2 separate regions of the Homo sapiens genome follow, and region 2 is linked to region 1. Evidence: promoter capture Hi-C in 16 types of primary human blood cells and fetal thymus (Javierre and others, 2016). All regions are on one chromosome and are shown on one strand. The core of a region is centred on a gene start or on the middle of the fragment in contact, and the rest is flanking DNA. Distances in the headings are between cores, read along the strand shown.

What was found. The method cuts DNA at HindIII sites, captures the fragments that hold promoters and counts their contacts. A CHiCAGO score of 5 or more calls a contact.
Region 2: a fragment that was not itself captured here is called in contact with the fragment with the promoter of PLAUR in region 1 in 1 of 17 cell types (erythroblasts); the score reaches 5.5 in erythroblasts.

What each region holds. Positions count from the first base shown.
Region 1 is chr19:43,668,660-43,673,099 of GRCh38, reverse strand. PLAUR (plasminogen activator, urokinase receptor) reads left to right here and starts at 2,931. Exons shown (of 7, transcript NM_002659.4): 1 at 2,931-3,034. The coding sequence starts at 2,980. LOC124904724 (a long non-coding RNA gene) reads right to left here and starts at 4,336. Exons shown (of 3, transcript XR_007067264.1): 1 at 3,917-4,336; 2 at 2,620-3,074. RefSeq lists an enhancer at 2,863-3,162 and silencers at 4,083-4,162, 4,203-4,432. The HindIII fragment of the contact is 10,236 bases long and covers 1-4,440 here.
Region 2 is chr19:44,502,225-44,506,910 of GRCh38, reverse strand. It overlaps CEACAM20 (CEA cell adhesion molecule 20), which reads left to right. Exons shown (of 12, transcript NM_001102597.3): 12 at 697-752. The coding sequence ends at 750. Among named protein-coding and RNA genes, the nearest start is that of ZNF180, 4.0 kb to the right of the region's middle. The HindIII fragment of the contact is 5,114 bases long and covers 1-4,686 here.

The DNA.
Region 1 (4,440 bases), core at 1,682-4,181:
CAGGAGTTCGAGACCAGCCTAGCCGACATGGCGAAACCCCATCTCTACTAAGAATACAAAAATTAGGGCTGGGCGCAGTGGTTCAAGCCTGTAATCCCAGCATTTTGGGAGGCTGAGGCGGGTGGATCACCTGAAGTCAGGAGTTCAAGACCAGTCTGGCCAGCATGGTGAAACCCCATCTCTACTAAAAATGCAAAAAATTCGCCAGGCATGGTGGAGAATGCCTGTAATCTCAGCTACTCAGGAGGCTGAGGCAGGAGAACCTCTTGAACCTGGGAGGCAGAAGTTGCAGTGAGCCGAGACCGTGCCATTGCACTCCAGCCTGGGTAACAAGAAAGAAACTCCGACTCAAAAAAAAAAAAAAAATAGCCAGGCATGCATGAGAATCCCTTGAACCTGGGAGGTGGAAGTTGCAGTGAGCCGAGACCACGCCATTGCATCCAGCCTGGGAGACAAAGTGAGACTCTGTCTCAAAAACAACAACAACAACGACAACAAATCACATAGTATAATCATTATTACAGCAGTAGAAGTAGCTACCACTTACTCATCCCCTACGACTCTCTTCCTCTCCTAATCTGTTCCAGCCACACTGACATCTCTTCTGTTCCTAGAATCTCATCAGGCTTCCACCTCAAGGCCTTTGCACTGGTTGTTCCTGCTCCTTGGAAAGGTTCCCTGCCCATCTGCCCTACTTCTTCCCTCACTGCATTCAGCCTCTGCTTGAATGCCACTTGCTCAGGGAACCCCTCCTGGATCACCCACCTAAAACAGCTCACACCTCATTTGCACCCAGATACTTCCTTCAGCCTGCTTTGTTTTCTCCAGTTTGCTTATCCCTCTCAGACAGTGAAAGATTAGATAACACATATCTGCTCCCCACTGTCAACACAACAAAAGGTGGGAACTTTGCTTTGCGTCCTGCTGTGCCCCTAGCTCCTGGACCAGTGCCCAGCACAAAGTAGGTCCTTGGTAGATGTTAAAGGAATGTGTTGAGCCCTCCATTTCGGCCAGCAGCTATTCCAGGCATTGCACCTACATTAAATTGCTCTGTTTAGTTAGATGCATCCTAAGACGGGGAGACAATTTTATCTTTAGTATTTTATTTTACTTAAAAAAAAAAAAAACTTGGCCAGGTGCAGTGGCTCATGCCTGTAATCCCAGCACTTTGGAAGGACAAGGCAGGTGGATCACCTGAGGTCAGGAGTTCGAGACCACCCTGACCAACATGGTGAAACCCCATCTCTACTAAAAATACAAAAATTAGCCGGGTGTGCTGGCGTGCCCCTGTAATCCCAGTTACTCAGGAGGCTGAGGCAGGAGAATTGCATGAACCCAGGAGGCGGAGATTGCAGTGGCCGAGATTGCACCACTGCACTCTAGCCTGGGTGACAGAGTGAGACTTCGTCTCAATAAATAAATAAATAAATAATAAAAAGAAAGAAAAAACTTATTATAAGCCTTTTCAAACCCACAGAAAAGGAGACAGAATGGCATAATATGCCCTTATATACTGATTACCTTTATATAATTGATACAACCATTTGGCTATTTTGCCTTTATTTTCTACTCAAGTATTTATTTATTTATTATTTTTTTGAGACAGGGTCTCGCTCTGTTGCCCAGGTTGGAGTGCAGTGGTGCAATCATAGCTCACTGCAGCTTCCAGTTCCCAGGTTCAAGCGGTCCTCCCACCTTAGCCTCCCAACTACCTAGGACTACAAGTACGGGCCACTGCACCCAGCTAATTTTATTTTATTTTTAATTTCTTTTGGAAAGATGAGGGCTCTTTATGTTTCCCAAGCTGATCTTGAACTCCTGGCCCCAAGTGATCCTCCTGCCTTGGCTTCCCAAAGCATTGGTGTTACAGGCATGAGCCACCTCATCTGACCTCTTCTAAAATATTATAAAATAAATACAGACATCAAAATGAAAACAAAAGAAAAAGAAAAAACAAAACAAAAATCCCCAAAACAACAACAACAAAAAATGCAGACATCAATAACATTCACCACTAAATACTCTAGTAAGCATCTGCAAAAACAAACAAACAAACAAAAACCAGAATCCCACCTAAGCATACAGCCATTGTCGTAACAGTGATATCTACTTTTTTGGCTGAAGTGTCTTTTTTTTTTTTTTTTTTTTTTTCTGTGAGAAGGAGTCTTGTTCTGTTGCCAGGCTGGAGTGCAGTGGCACGATCTCGGCTCACTGCAACCCAACCTCCGCCTCCCGGGTTCAAGCGATTCTCCTGCCTCAGCCTCCTAAGTAACACACACACGCCACTACGCCCGGCTAATTTTTGTATTTTTAGTAGAGACGGGGTTTCACCATTAAGTGTTTTAATGTAGGTGCAATGCCTGGAATAGCTGCTGGCCAAAATGGAGGGCTCAACACATTCCTTTAACATTTACCAAGGACCTACTTCGTGCTGGGCACTGGTCCAGGAGCTGGGGGCACAGCGGGAAGCAAAGCAAGGGTTAAGTGTTTTAAGTGTTTAAGAGATGCATATTTCAGGATGCATCTCTAGATAAGGACATTTTCCAAAATACCAGTATCCCTCCTGACAAAACTAACAAAAATCCTGTTAGCCAAATAATCAGCCACATTCATATTTACCGTCAAAGTTTTTATCCTCATTTTACAGCAGTGGAGAGCGATTGCCCCGGGTCCCACGTTAGGAAGAGAGAGAACTGGGATTTGCACCCAGGCAATCTGGGGACAGAGCTGTGATCACAACTCCATGAGTCAGGGCCGAGCCAGCCCCTTCACCACCAGCCGGCCGCGCCCCGGGAAGGGAAGTTTGTGGCGGAGGAGGTTCGTACGGGAGGAGGGGGAGGCGCCCACGCATCTGGGGCTGACTCGCTCTTTCGCAAAACGTCTGGGAGGAGTCCCTGGGGCCACAAAACTGCCTCCTTCCTGAGGCCAGAAGGAGAGAAGACGTGCAGGGACCCCGCGCACAGGAGCTGCCCTCGCGACATGGGTCACCCGCCGCTGCTGCCGCTGCTGCTGCTGCTCCACACCTGCGTCCCAGGTAGGGGCTGGGTCCCGAACGCCTGCGCCTGGAACAGGGTCTAATTGAGGGGGTTGGGGGTTGTCAGAGGATGAGTTGGAGGAATGCGGTTCAGTCCTCAGCATCCTCCCTAATCAAATAATAGTAATTCTCGTGCTTTGTGCAACGCCACGCGGCGCAGTACCTGGCACTCAGTAGCTAAGGAAATATTAGTGGAGCAAAGGCATTTAGCTTTACATAATTTAGTGAGTGCTTTTTTTTTTTTTTTTTTTTTTTTGACAGAGTCTCACTCTGTCGCCCAGGCTGGAGTGCAGTGGCGCGATCTCGGCTCACTGCAACCTCTGCCGCCCGGGTTCAAGCGATTCTCCTGCCTCAGCCTCCTGGGTAGCTGGGATTACAGGCGCCTGCCATCGCGCCCGGCTAATTTCTGTATTTTTAGTGGAGACCGGGTTTCACTCTGTTAGCCAGGATGGTCTCAATCTCCTGACCTCAGATGATCCACCTGCCTCGGCCTCCCAAACTGCTGGGATTACAGGCGTGAGCCACCGCGCCCGGCCCAAGTGTTCTTTTTTTAAATGGAGTTCTTCGAAGCCTCTTCCTTGCAATTTCAAACTAGGCGATGGGACTTTATTAATTTCGTTTCGCAGAGGAAACTAGGGCACAGAGAGGTTAGATAACTGGCCTAAAATCACACAGCCAGTGCTTGAATACGCAGGATCTGACCCTGCAGCGCCCCCCAGCGCTCTCCACGCTGCTGGGTCTCCCCCTCTGAGAAACGGGGGGACAGGACCCCCTTTTACAAAAGGCCCAAAGGGAGGCTGACTGAGCGGCGCAGAGCCAGTGCTGGAGACCCGGGACTGTCCCTCAGGACCTTTCCCTCTCACTGAGGCGACTCTCACTTACTTCCCCGGAAAATGTGGGGGGCTCTGGGTCGAGGAATTCGAGAAGGAACTGAGTCAGGGCGGGTGGCCACAGGGTGTTGGGGCCGCGATGAATAACCCGGAAAGCGCTCGAGACCGCGGGAGGCCGGGAATGAGTAACAGCTCCGGGATACTCCGAACGCGCAGCTGGAAAGGGATGTCCGGGAAGGCCCGGAGGTCGGGGACCGGGCCTAGGGACTGGGCTGCAATCTCGGGGCGGAGCCTGGGGCGGGGAGAGAGTGTCGGGGAGGAGCCAGAGGGCGGGGCTGGAACCTCAAGGAAGAGCTACGGGAGAGGTTACAGACCGAGGAAGAGCTAGGAGCGGGGCTAGAACCTCGAGGCGGAGCCAGAGGGCGGGGTTATAACCTCGAGGCGTAACCAGAGGGCGGAGTTATAACCTCGGGAGGAGCTAGAAGGTGGGACTAGACTCTTGAGGGGCAGGATTATAACCTCGGGGAGGAGCTAGAGGGCGGGGCTGGAACCTCAAGGAGGGGCTAGGGGCGGGGT
Region 2 (4,686 bases), core at 1,010-3,509, 830 kb before region 1:
ACAGACTTTGCAGCTTAAAACAACATGAATTCATTATCTCACAGTTTCTGTGGGTCAGGAGTTCAGGCATTGCTTAGTTAGCTCTTCTGCAAGGCTGTATAATCAAGGTGCCAGTCAAAGCCCAGGTCTCATCTGAGGCTCAGCTGGGGATGGATCCACTTCCAAGCTCATGTGGTCATTAGCAGCATTCAGTTCCTTGCAGGCTGTCATAATGAGGGCCTCAGTTTCTTACTGTCAGCTGGAGGTCATCCTCAGTTCTTTGCCATGTGGCCCTCTCCACAGGCAGCTCACAACATTGCATCTTGCTTCTTCAAGCCAAGACAGAAGTCATAATCTTATGTAACAGAATCACATACATGCAATCATGTATATCCTGCCACCTTTGCCATATTCTATTGGTTAGATGCAAGTCACAGGTCTTGCCCTCAAGGGGAGGAGATTACATAAAGGAATGAATACCAGGAGGCAGGGATTATGGGGACCACTTTAGAGTCTGTTTACCACAGTGGGGAAGTACATGGGCCATTCCAGGAACAGAGATGTGCCAGGGTTACTAAAGTGTGATGAGAATGGAGGAAGATTTTTGGAATTTCCAAAGAAAGGAAAGCTCCAGGCTGTTTGGGCCCCAGACTACAGTGAGTAGACTGGGAGGGTCCACCTAGCAAATGGAGCTCACATTTTCTCTTTGTTTAACAGGAGCTTGTGAATCCAGAGCCCAACACTTACATCCAAATCAACCCCTCCGTCTAATGGAAGCAGAGATCTTTTCTCCAGGAGTCCTAGAGAAACCATGCTTGATCATATATTTAATGACATTTATTAAGTGCATATTATAAGCCAGTCATTCTCTGTCATCTCTGTAGACCTTGTGATGTTCTACTGCAATGGGTTGGTCAGGCCCTGGCTTCCATAGAATCTTAGATTTTGACTCATATTTTTTTTCAAAGCAATAGTAAGGGTAAAAATGACAGCCCGTGGATCTAGAGTTAGAGGACCAAGGTTTGAGACTGAACAGCTTAGGATATCATAGTTGCAGGCTGAGGATGAGCAAACACTGTTGGTGGACTCCAGAGAGAAGAGTGAGTCTGAGTCAGCCAGAGAGGAGTAGGGGACAAAGACAGGTGTCAGAGAAGAAGTGGCTTTTCAAATCATGATAGAAGATAAGGAACAAGGAGCTCTTAAGAAATTAAGAGCTCTTAATAAAAGGAGAAAACACGTAGTGAAGTGAGGGATTGAGGCTCCTGAGGAGAGGTAGGCATGAAATGCTTAGAATCCTGAGAACTGCAGGGGCGGAGAGAGTCAGAATGAGATTTGCTGAAGGTAAAGAGAGTTAGGAGACAAGGATATCTCCATGGTTTCTTGCCAGGGCAACTGGATGATTGGCAGGTCACTTTCTGAGAAACTTTGGGATAAGGAGAGAAATAAAGAATTTGCTTCATGTCAAGAATTTAGACATGTCAAGAATCAGTTGCAGAATCAAGTAGGCAATTGTTCATAAAAATCTAGACAGATCATGGCTGGAGATACACATTTGAGAGTTGTCAGTGGGACTTAAAGTTATGGGGCTGGATGAGCTCCTCTGTCAGGGGGGTCCCCAAGACCACCTCATGCTCAAAGATTTTCTAGAGGAATTCATAGGACCCAATTGTTATACTCATGGTTATAGTTTATTACAGCAAAAGGATGGAGAATAAAATTAGCAAAGGGAAAAGGTGCATGGGGTGAAGTCTGGAGGATACCCTGCACCAGCTTCCAAGTGTTCTCTTTCAGTGGAGTCACATGGTGTATTAGTCTGCTTTCTTTGGCCTATAACAGAATATCTAAATCTGGGTAATTTGTTTTAAAAAGGAAATTTATTTCTTACAGTTATGGAGGCTTAGAAGTCTAAGGTCTAGGGGTTGCATCTGGTGAGAGCACTTCTTGCTGGTGGGGACTCTCTGTGGAGTCCTGAAGTGGTGCAGGGAATCACATGCCAAGGGGACTGAGTGTGGTAACATGTTAGCTCATGTTTCTCTTTCTTTTCTTATGAAGCTACCAGTTCCACTCCCATGATAACCCGTTAATCCATTAGTCCATGAATGGATTAATCCATTCATGAAGGCAAAACCCTCATGAGCCAATCACCTCTTAAAAACCCCCACCTCTCAATATTGCCACACTGGGGATTAAGTTTCAACATGAGTTTTGGAGGAGACAAATATCCAAACCACAGCACATGGGAAATCCCCCAGCAATGATGTGTGACAACGTGTGTGAAGCATTGCCATCGAGGGAAGCTCACCTAAACCTGGGTGTCCATGGTTTTTATAAAGGGTCAGTCACTGAAGCTCCAGACTCCTAGAAGGAAAGCAGATGTTCCTCCATAAATTACACTGTTAGTATAAACCATCTGGACAAAGTGGTACAGCATGGCTCAAGGCCTCAGGCAAACAAAAGCACTCTTACCAGATAGAACATTATGAGAGCTCAGTTCCCAGAGCTGCCCAAAGGCTAGTCAGGAAAACAGGACCTTCTGGGGAACTTACAGAGTTTGAGCAATAGGCCTGTTATGTCAACCCCAAGCAGAGTGGATGAAGACAAGGCAAGGGACAGGCTGACAGCTGATTCCTGGGTTCCTCTGATGTTTACAGGAGAGATCAAGCAAAGGAGACAAAAAAGGACTGTTAACACAGGGGGAAACCAACACTGAAAACTCCTGGAAATGAAGAGTTTTCAGAATGCGTTGTTGCTATCCTTGGAGCTGAATGGCTATCATAATGATGATAACATTAATTCAGATTTTAAAAATTAATCATTAGATGTGATACAAGAGACCGGAATTAGGATCTTAAGGGTTGCACTCAGTAGTACCAGAAACACCACCCTATTTGAACCCTGAGAACTTTCCTCTTCCCTGCCAAGAAATGTCCCCCTCCCCCTGACATCCTAGAGACAGATCATGCCCTTTTACCCTCTCGTTACTCTTACTTTGTTTTCTAGTATTTATAGTAAATGGATTCATAATCTTCTTGCTCTTCACTGTATCTTGAGCCCTTATCCAATTCATGGCCAATAAACAGAATCTTAATATAAACTTTGGTCTCAGCTCTTCCCGACAGTTGACAGATAAATCTCTAGATTAGATAGGCATCTTTCTAGAATGTTCCTGAGTGGTAACTCTTTAAAATTTTTATTTATTCATTTATTTATTTTGAGACAGGGTCTGGCTCTGTCGCTGAGGCTGGAGTGTAGTAGCATAATCTTGGTTCACTGCAACCTCTGCTTCCTGGGCTCAGGCAATCCTTCCTGCCTCAGCCTCCTGAGTAGCTGGGACTACAGCTTGTGCCACCAGGCCCAGCTAATTTTTGTATTTTTTGTAGAGACGGGGTTTCACCATGTTGCCCAGGCTGGTCTCAAACTCCTGGGCTCAAGTGATCCTCCTGCTCCGGCTTCCCAAAGTGTGGGGATTACAGGCGTGAGCCACTGCGCCCAGCAGTGGTAACTCTTCTAAAGTCCCTGTAATATTCAGGTTAAGTCAGGATTTATAGGTTCCTGGAAGTAAACATTACCACCTTGTTCATTGTGAAAGAAAATAAAAAAGACTAAACAAAAGACAGATAAACAAAGTCAGTTTTACATTACATAGTACTAACGCTTTATTTTCTGAAAATTGTTTTTTTTTTTTGAGATGGAGTCTTGCTCTGTTGCCCAGGATGGAGTGTAGCAACGTGATCTTGGCTCATTGCAGCCTCTGCCTCCCAGGTTCAAGCGATTCTTCTGCCTCAGACTCCTGAGTAGCTGGGATTACAGGCGTGCATCACCATGCCTGTCTAATTTTTGTATTTTTTAAGTAGACACAGAGTTTTGCCATGTTGGCCAGACTGGTCTTGAACTCTTGACCTCATGATTGGCCTGCCTTAGCCTCCCAAAGTACTAGGATTACAGGTGTGAGCCACTGCGCCTGGCCTATTTTCTGAATATCTTAAACAATTAGCAGAAAAATAAATGAAGTGAAAAAAGGAAGACGACCTAACACTCAAAGCATCCCATTCTGATTTTGTCATATTTGTATTTGCAGATCAATCTGCAAGATTTTACATCTTTACAACACACAGCTAGCAACACAGCATTTCTATTTGTCCATTTTTCTCTCTCAGTAAGGTTTTGAGGGTTTCTTCAGATGACATATTTATCTTACTAAATTTACTTATAAGGCTTTTTTTTTTTGCTTTTTTGTGAATACATACGAACTTTTTCTGTTTTGTTTGCAAACTTAGTATTGCTTGCACGTAGAGGAAAGATACTGATGTGTAGACAAGCGGCAACATAATGTAAAAGTTAAGAGCATGGACTCTAGAGTTCAACATCTTGGTCTCAAATGCACAACATAGGTGGAAATACAGATGAAACAAGACTGAGTGAAAATATTTAAGTTGGATGACATAGGTCTTGGGGAGTCATTAATTGAGTCCCTACTTTTGTTTTGAAATTTACAAAATAAAAGGTTAAAAAAATAAGCTACTTACTTCAATGTAGAAACCGATGTCACATTTAACCCTCAAACTTCAGAGATATGTCCATTAAAAGAACACAAACAAGAATGCCTCTTTTAGTAATACTTTTTTGGAAATGGTAGCCAATATAATCCAACATGAAAGAGAATGTCTAATTTAAAATACTGGTAAGGAAAAGATGAAATTGTAGATA